3 separate regions of the Homo sapiens genome follow, and regions 1 and 2 are each linked to region 3. The links are contacts of gene promoters, found by promoter capture Hi-C in human tissues and cell types (Jung and others, 2019). All regions are on one chromosome and are shown on one strand. The core of a region is centred on a gene start or on the middle of the fragment in contact, and the rest is flanking DNA. Distances in the headings are between cores, read along the strand shown. Region 1 overlaps VIPR2 (vasoactive intestinal peptide receptor 2). Region 2 has its middle 110 kb from the start of VIPR2. Region 3 holds the start of VIPR2 (vasoactive intestinal peptide receptor 2).

What was found. Contacts are between HindIII fragments. The study calls those that stand out against the background at their distance.
Region 1: a fragment that was not itself captured here is called in contact with the fragment with the promoter of VIPR2 in region 3 in 5 of the 25 tissues and cell types used here (H1 embryonic stem cells, dorsolateral prefrontal cortex, ovary and 2 more).
Region 2: a fragment that was not itself captured here is called in contact with the fragment with the promoter of VIPR2 in region 3 in 3 of the 25 tissues and cell types used here (H1 embryonic stem cells, dorsolateral prefrontal cortex and spleen).

What each region holds. Positions count from the first base shown.
Region 1 is chr7:159,074,129-159,076,828 of GRCh38, reverse strand. The region is part of intron 4 of VIPR2 (vasoactive intestinal peptide receptor 2); the gene reads left to right. Among named protein-coding and RNA genes, the nearest start is that of LINC00689, 67 kb to the right of the region's middle. The HindIII fragment of the contact is 3,943 bases long and covers 1-2,700 here.
Region 2 is chr7:159,255,339-159,258,263 of GRCh38, reverse strand. No RefSeq gene overlaps it. Among named protein-coding and RNA genes, the nearest start is that of VIPR2, 110 kb to the right of the region's middle. The HindIII fragment of the contact is 7,606 bases long and covers 1-2,925 here.
Region 3 is chr7:159,143,572-159,146,271 of GRCh38, reverse strand. VIPR2 (vasoactive intestinal peptide receptor 2) reads left to right here and starts at 1,405. Exons shown (of 13, transcript NM_003382.5): 1 at 1,405-1,551. The coding sequence starts at 1,501. The HindIII fragment of the contact is 14,641 bases long and covers 1-2,700 here.

The DNA of each region.
Region 1 (2,700 bases), core at 180-2,679, 69 kb after region 3:
TTTTCTTTTTTTAAAAAAACTAAACCAACGATATTCTTACTCACCAAAGATTATCCGTGTCACATGAACTTAAAAAACATTTGAGTAAATTCCTGTTTTTCTGAAAGTTTTAGAATTACTTATACAAGTGCTTATTTTTCTTTGAGCCAATTAAATAGAGCTATTTTATACATTAATTTTGGAAATGCCATCCAGAGGTTAAAAAAAAATACACATGTCATAAAGATAGAGATAGACAGAGATCTTACAGCTTCCATTTAGAAATTTCAGTCATGTGTCTGGTACAATAATACAAAACTTGCTAGTTTATAAAAGAACAGCTGGATCCAAATTGTGTTTCTGGCAGACAAAATAATTTGCTCAAATGGCTAAAGACTTTTTTACTAAAGATTTTTCATTTGTGCACTGTAAGGATACTTTTGGAGAATCAGTTTGTCTTTTAGAAGCTTCTGCATAACAAAGAAGGCATTTCACTGTCTCTGAAAAGATGAAGATCCTCTGTCTTCAAGGGCACCCCTAAGCTGATCTATCTTACTTATGGACTTACACGATCTACAAGCAACATTTTTGTTTTTTTCTTTTCTAATATGTAAATGTTAAAGGTTCCCCAAAGTGGCCATGGCAGTTCCAAATTATCCTTTTTTAAGTTTACCCATTTTTCCAAAAACGCACAAGATCCTGGCCCACGGAGGATTTTGGACCAGGTGGAACCCATCTTTGCCTTAAATTACCCAGACATGAACAGCTGTTCCAAAACAGTTCAGCTGTTTCTTCCACTTCTGTACAGAACAGGGTGACCCACCAAGAAGGTTCAACAAAGATTACTCAAGAAAATGGGCAAGCTCAACACAAAGGGTGTGGAGATTGGATCCTAGAGACTTACCCTGGACTTCCACGGCCCGTGAGAAAGCAGTAAATGCAGTAGGTCCTTGGGTGCCGGCCCTGGGCTACTCGCTGATGCAGCGGGTCCATGGGTGCCGGCCCTGGGCTACTCACTGATGCAGCGGGTCCGTGGGTGCCGGCCCTGGGCTACTCACTGATGCAGCGGGTCCGTGGGTGCCGGCCCTGGGCTACTCACTGATGCAGTGGGTCCGTGGGTGCTGGCCCTGGGCTACTCATTGATGCAGTAGGTCTGTGGTGCCAGCCCTGGGCTACTCCCTGATGTGGCAGGTCCTTGGGTGCTGGCCCTGGGCTACTCCCTGATGTGGCAGGTCCGTGGGTGCCAGCCCTGGGCTACTCCCTGATGCAGTGGGTCCGTGGGTGCCAGCCCTGGGCTCCTCACTGGCCTCAACCCTCATCAGGGGTCTTCTTTGGTTCCCACTCCTGACACTAAAAATATGATATGAAGATTTTATTGAGTGAGAAACAAACTGTTTGCAAATAGGGAGACTTCAAAGCCAAAACTGGTAAGAAGCTTGTCTCATGGTTACAGCAAGGTTTATATGCTATGAAAGAGGAAGTTCATAAGCTTAATTCTCATTGGTTAGGTTGAGTAAATTACCTGGGTCACTAATTGGCTACAATGTGCTGAGGTGTTTCAACAAAGAAATAAAGCTCAAAATTGGTTTACAGTTTAAGTGGGTAAATGGACATCTGTAGATTTTGAGCTGAGCTGAGGGTAGGCCATTGACTCACAGGCAAAGGTCAGTTCTAGCCTCCATTTTTATTCTTATTTAACAGTGGTAATGGGAGGATCCTAAACTTTTCAAAAGCATCTGCAAAGGCCACATGTAGTCATGTAGTCTAAGGCTAACAGAACAAGAGGTTTCTTAGCCTGTCTTTACACCAAAAGCCAAGCCAAGCTATTTAAATATCAGCTAAATAAGGTATTCATTGAGTTCACTTTTCATAGACATAGAGACACTCCTGTTCCAAGTTACCTGTCTCATGGCACCTCGAGCATAATGGGTACCCAGTTTTTCCTACATGTTCTTTGGTCTCTTTCTATTGGCTTCAGAAAAACGAGTTCTTTTTTTATCTGGGTTTTTGTTTGTTTGTTTGTTCATTGTGACAGAGTCTCACTGTGTTGACCAGGCTGGTCTCAAACTCCTAGCCTCAAGCAATCCTCCCACCTCAGCCTCCCAAAGTGTTGGGATTACAGGCATGAGCCACTGCTCCCAGCCAGAAAAACAAGTTGTTATAGATTTCTAGTCATAAGAACAATTTTTAATAGTATATTATCTTAGTCTATTCACGTTGCAGTAACCAAATATCATAGGCTGGGTGACTTATGAAAAATGGAAATTTATTTTTCAAGCTTTGGAGGCTACAAAGTCCCAGATCAAGGTGCAGCCGATTCCTTGTCTGGTAAGGCCACATTTCCTCTCACGATGCTCCCACACAGTGGAGGGACAAGGGGCTCTAACCCTGTTCATGAGGGCTCCACCCTCACAAACTGATCACCTTCCAGAGGCCCCACCTCTTGATACCATCACCAAAAAGTTAAGTTTCAACATAGGAAATGGCGTCCTGAGCAAGCTGAGTCTTTCACACAGAAATGGGTCTGTCTCCCTTTTATTTGGATTTCTCTTCTGTTGCTTGGGGAAGTGCTTCAGTTTCCTCACTTTAGGCCCAGAACATTTTCCGCTCAGTTTATTCCTAGATATTTTACACTTTGTGCAGCTCTTTTGAATGAGGCCTGATTAAATTTACTTGATAGTTTTACTGATTATTTCTGTTGACTTCTCTTGATTTTTCTGA
Region 2 (2,925 bases), core at 79-2,578, 110 kb before region 3:
GACGAGTTAATGGGTGCAGCACACCAGCATGGCACATGTATACATATGTAACTAACCTGCACATTGTGTACATGTACCCTAAAACTTAAAGTATAATAATAATAAAATAAAATAAAATGAAAAAAGAAAAGAAAAAAAAAGAAATCATCAGTTTGCCATAGTATCACACATAATTGTGTGGTCTTTGAGTTCAAATCTCGGTTCCATTATTAAGTGCGCCATATGATTCTGGGAACTTACCCCACCTCTCTCAGCCTTTGGTTTTCTCATGTATAAACTGAGTTACTAAGATTGTTCAGAGAATAAATAAGAAATTTATATAAAGTACAGTGTAAATACTCAGTAAATTGTTCTTGTAACTGTTTTTTTCAAATTATTGTTACTAGAAACTGGACAAAATAAAAATATACATAACATAATTAATTAGTATAAGTCAGAATAGAAACGCTCTGTCCAGTTCTTCAAAACCAACCTCACCAGGCTGAGAGTTCATTTGATTCAAGTCCCTGAGTTCACAGTGTTACCAAATGGGTTCCATTTGCCCACATGTAATGGAAAGCCAAATACTGAAGCACTGGATTTTTGCAGCAAGAAGGGTTTTTACCAAGCAGCCGAGCGAGGACACAGGAGTTGGGCTCAAGTGTGTCTCCTGAGTCAGGGGTTGGGGCAGGTTTTATGGTCAAGGGGTAGTGAGGCATCATCTGGTTGGGTCTTGCAATGAGGTGGTGCTGGGAAGTGTGGTCTGACTGGATCCTGCCATGGGTTATGCCAGGGTTCGATCTGATTGGATCCTGGATCCCGCCATGTCGTGTCCACTTCTTAATTCAGTCCCCGCTCCTCAGCCCAACCACTGAGGTTATGCCCATGTTGCACACTGGGTTCATCTGGGCACGCTCAAGTTATGTGACCTTCAACTTGGGGGTCTGTGGAAACTAAAAAATAATTCAAAACTTAGTCGCATAAAAGTTGAACCAGATTGGTTTAGTTACAACAGACCCAGCCAGCAACTCCCTTTGAAGACTCCCTGGCTCTCTCCTGTTTCCACTCCAGACCCTCTCAGTTCATTGATCTCTTTTCCCCCCTTTTCACATCTGCCAGTTTTTAACACATTGATCACTTTATCTGCAAACAATTCTGTCTTTCCTCAGGAGTCATATTCGTAAGTCTCAGGGACCTTTTGGAAAGATCCTTTTTGGTTTTCCTATGTGGTGTTTTGGTGGCACAACTCCTTAAAACACAGTATTTGGAGCTTTTCCCCACCTCAGAGAGTGGTTTGAATAAAGAAAACTTGATAGATTTCTAGGAGGACAAATCAAACAGCCTTGAGGCAAGCTGTAGTCTGTAACTATCAATCTTTTCTTTTTCTTTTTGAGACAAGGTCTCGCTCCCTCACTCAGACTGGAGTGCAGTGGCTCAATCACAGCTCAGTGCAGCTTTGAAATCTTAGGCTCAAGCGATCCTCCCACCTCAGGCTCCCAAGTAGCTGGGACTACAGGTGTGCGTCACCACGGAACTAATTTTTTTTTTGCTTTTTTTGTTTTACTTCTTGTGGAGACAGGGTCTCACTATGCAGCCCAGGCTGTTCTCAAACTCCTGAGCTCAAGCGATCCTCCTGCTTTGCTTTCCCAAAGCGTTGGGGTCATAGGCGTTCGCCACCCTACCTGGCCATGAGTCTTATTCATCTGAGATATTTTGCATGGTTTATTCCTCTTATTGATGCTTTTCTTTGTATTACATTTGCATGTAGGAGGGCTAAGTTTAATTCTAAGTTTATTATGCAGAAGATTTGGTAAATATGAAGGTCCCTAAGTAATTTACTTTAGAGAGTTAGTTTTTTAAATTTACAAATTTCAGGCAGCAATCCAATCTCATTTTTTATTTAGTTCATTTTCGTATTTGGAACTCTTTCTCTGTTTGAATCAAGTGAAAACACACATTTCCACAATTTCTGTTTATACCGTTTACATACAATGTTAAGCCACTGGAACAATGCATTTGTGCCGATTATGCCTTAAAACAAAATAAACATAGAAGAGTTTATTAGCTTTTGATCACATGGCAAACTATATTTTGAATAATCACATAATGATTTTAACATTTCCAGAAGCATTCAAAAACCTATGTCAACATCTATTTTTGAGAGTCACAGAAAGCTTGAAAATAGGTGTAATAATCTCTCTCTTGCCTGCAGGCAAGATTATACCCACATTATCCCCAGTAAGTAGTTGTGGCACTATGGAAATTTTTTTAAACTGCTTTTATATGTAATGTAAGTATTTACAACAGAACTCCAAAAGTAAAAAGGAATAAAAGATAATCATGTTATTTTTGAGGGGCTGCTGATGAGTCTTATTTCCCCACCCCCATTGACTGGAAGAATTTTGCTCATTTTGGTTTTATTTTTTCCTTCATACTCTCCTCCTCCTTATGGGTCTGATTATTTTTTTCCAAGAAAACTAATGATTCAGGAAAAGGAGTGACAGTTTGAGGGCAGTTAGACGGCAGTGATGAAGTGGGAGGGCCGTGGTGCCGGCACAGGGAGAGCTTTTGTGGTCCCCACAGTTCCAAAGACCGCTGCTTCCCAGGAGAGCCTATCGTCCCTGCCGTCCACAAGAATCAGGGCTGCTGACCAACAACTGATTAGCAGAAGCTTTTCTAGTTCCTTCAGGTTGCCAGGTTGACTTGGGTGCTTTGAAATGGAAGCCAAGTGTACCTGCCCAGAACCAAATTCTGTACTAGCCTGTCCCAAACCACAGATCTTTGGAGGAAGAGAGGGCTGTGCAGGGGTGGAGTGAAGACAGACAGTTTTCTGAAGGTTTTCCAGCCCAAGTTACTGCAGTGGCAGTACCCCGAGGGTTGTCAGGAGTGAGAGGTGGGAAGCCTGGTTTGCTGAGAATTTCAGTTTAGTCAAGCAAATGAATGAGG
Region 3 (2,700 bases), core at 156-2,655:
GATAGAGGAAAGGTGGATGATAGATGATAGGCGCATGATGATAGATACCTGACAGATGGATAGATGAAAGGTAGATGATGGACAGGTAGATGATAGATGACAGATAATAGATGACAGATTACAGATAGATGATCGATAGGAAGATGATAGATGATAGGTACATGACAGATCGATAGATGATACGTAGATGATGGATAGGTAGATGATAGATAATGTGGATGATAAACATCAGATGATAGAAAAATCGATATCTGTGAATACGGGGGGTGGGGGATCAGAGAGAAGCAAATGATAAGCCCAATGAGGTAAATGTTAATGACCGAATCCACAAAAAGGATAAAAAGGAGTTATTTGTAATATTCTTATTCTTCTAATTTTTGTGTAAGTTTGAAATTATTTCCAAATAAAAAATTAAAACAACACGAACTTAACTTGTATCTCTCATTCCAGTGCTTTCCACTTGCTGGGGAACGCCGAGCTCTCCTGGGTTGGTCACGCGGGCGCCTTGGGAGGCCGCGCAGTCCCGCGTGGGGCGCGGCGGGGCGGCCCCAGTGGCACCGCGTGAGTCCCCGCCCAGCGTTCCCCACCCGCCGCCGCGTTTGCGGGGAGAGAATGACCCCCGTTTTGCAAACGCAGGACACAAAACCCGCCACCCAGCTGAGGCTGGGACCCACCTATACCCCCGTCTGCGTTTTTCTCCAGCTTTCTGTTCGACCTGATGTCCTCTTTGAGGCTGCGGGGATCCCCACCAAAAAGCACTCTGATTTTCTCCATTTTCAGATGCCCCAACCTAGCCCCACTGGCTACAAAGACGGCGCGCCCACCCCGGACGGGTCTCTGGCCGCTTTCTTGGGCTTCCGCAGTTGTTTAGAAAGGCAGGTACAGGCGGCCGCAAAGGCATCCGCCCCTTCCGAGCGCACACCTGGCCCGGTCCTCCTCTCCCGGCCCCGCGCCGGCCGCTCTCCCCCAGTTCTCTCTACTCGGAGCCGGGCGCGCACTGAGCACCCCGCTTCCCAGCCCCTCCGCCCACAGATCGGGGAGGCGCGGCCGGGAGGGGGGCGTGGGCCAGGGAAGAGGGGAGGAGAACGGAGAGAGAGGCTGGGGGGGTCGAGGAGACCAGAGGGAGCGCGCGCGGCGGGGACAGAGAGCCCAGGGGCGAGGAGAGGGCGCGGGGCGCAGCGGAAGGGGAAGTGGGGGGCGGTGAGGAGGGGCGCGGAGCGGGGGTTCTCGGGGGAGGAGGGAGACGAGGATTGGGGCAGCGCGGGGCGGGGACAGGGGCGGGGGGCGGAGCGGCGGGGCGCGTGGGGGACGGGCGTGCATTGAGCGCGCTCCAGCTGCCGGGACGGAGGGGGCGGCCCCCGCGCTCGGGCGCTCGGCTACAGCTGCGGGGCCCGAGGTCTCCGCGCACTCGCTCCCGGCCCATGCTGGAGGCGGCGGAACCGCGGGGACCTAGGACGGAGGCGGCGGGCGCTGGGCGGCCCCCGGCACGCTGAGCTCGGGATGCGGACGCTGCTGCCTCCCGCGCTGCTGACCTGCTGGCTGCTCGCCCCCGTGAGTGCGCCCGCGACCCCCGCCCCACGGCGCCTCGGACCCGGTTCTCCCCTTCCGAGAAGAGCGCTCCTCCCGCCGGTCTTCGCCTTCCTCCCGGGTGCTGGAGCGCGGGCGGGGTCCGGGAGAGGGAGCGGGGTCGCCCGGGGTCCGGAGCTTCCTCCCGGAGAGCGTGAAGCGCTGAGCTCCGGTCCCGCCGGGTTGCGGGACTCGGGTTGGGAGGCTGCCTGCGCCCTTCCCCGCGCCCCACCGTCCGGGGTTTGCTGGAAACGGGATCGTTTCTTCCTGGACGCGTCAACGATGAGCTCGTTCGGGGCCGTCCCGGGAGCTGGGAGCTGCGGGCGCCTGCGCGGGCTGCGCGTTTCACGGGGAGATCGGGGTTGGCGTTGGCCGCAGATGCCTCTCGGTCCCTCCCTGTACTTACTGGTTAGTTTTAGTGTCGGGGGGACGTGGCGTCGGTTAAATAAAGTTTCCTTTTGGAAATAGTTGCTTTTTCCCAAGGGCACTGGAGGAACTAACTGCTCATAAGTTTGTTGATTAAGTGCCTTCGCACATGGAGTTCTGAATTATTCCCTCTGTGAACCTTAAAAAAAAAGGAAAGAAAAAAGAAAGAAAAAAACCCGAGCCTTGTTTCTTGCTTTCCTCTTGGAGACTGAAGCGGGTTTGCGGTGCGCGCGGTTTTCGTGCGCGTCGCAGCCGAGGCAGGTCTGGATCGATCCGCGGCCCCTCCGCAGCTGGGAGGCTGCGCTGCTGACCCGACAGTGTCATTGATTAACCGGCGACGCCCGGTCTGCAGCGGGGCTCGAGCCACACTCCCTGGCCTTGCGCGGAGGCGCAGCTCGGCTTTCCTCCCTCGAGGGTGGGCGCTTTGCGGAGCGGGTCCTTGGAAAGTAACGGGTTTTATCACGGTTAATGCTGCTTTCATTGCTAAAATGTCCTAAAAGAAGTCATTGCTGTGCATATTCCAGGAACGTCAGGTATTATTAATGTCTTTTACACTTTAACAAAGTTTTTCTTTTTACATCAATATAATTTCCTTAATTCTGAAATTTAAGCCACTTACTTGTCCTGCATGAAAACAGAGGACTTGGAGCCCAAAGTCAGTGCCTGGTGCTGGTTCAGTCACGAGCAAGAAGCAAGCTCGGGGCTCTT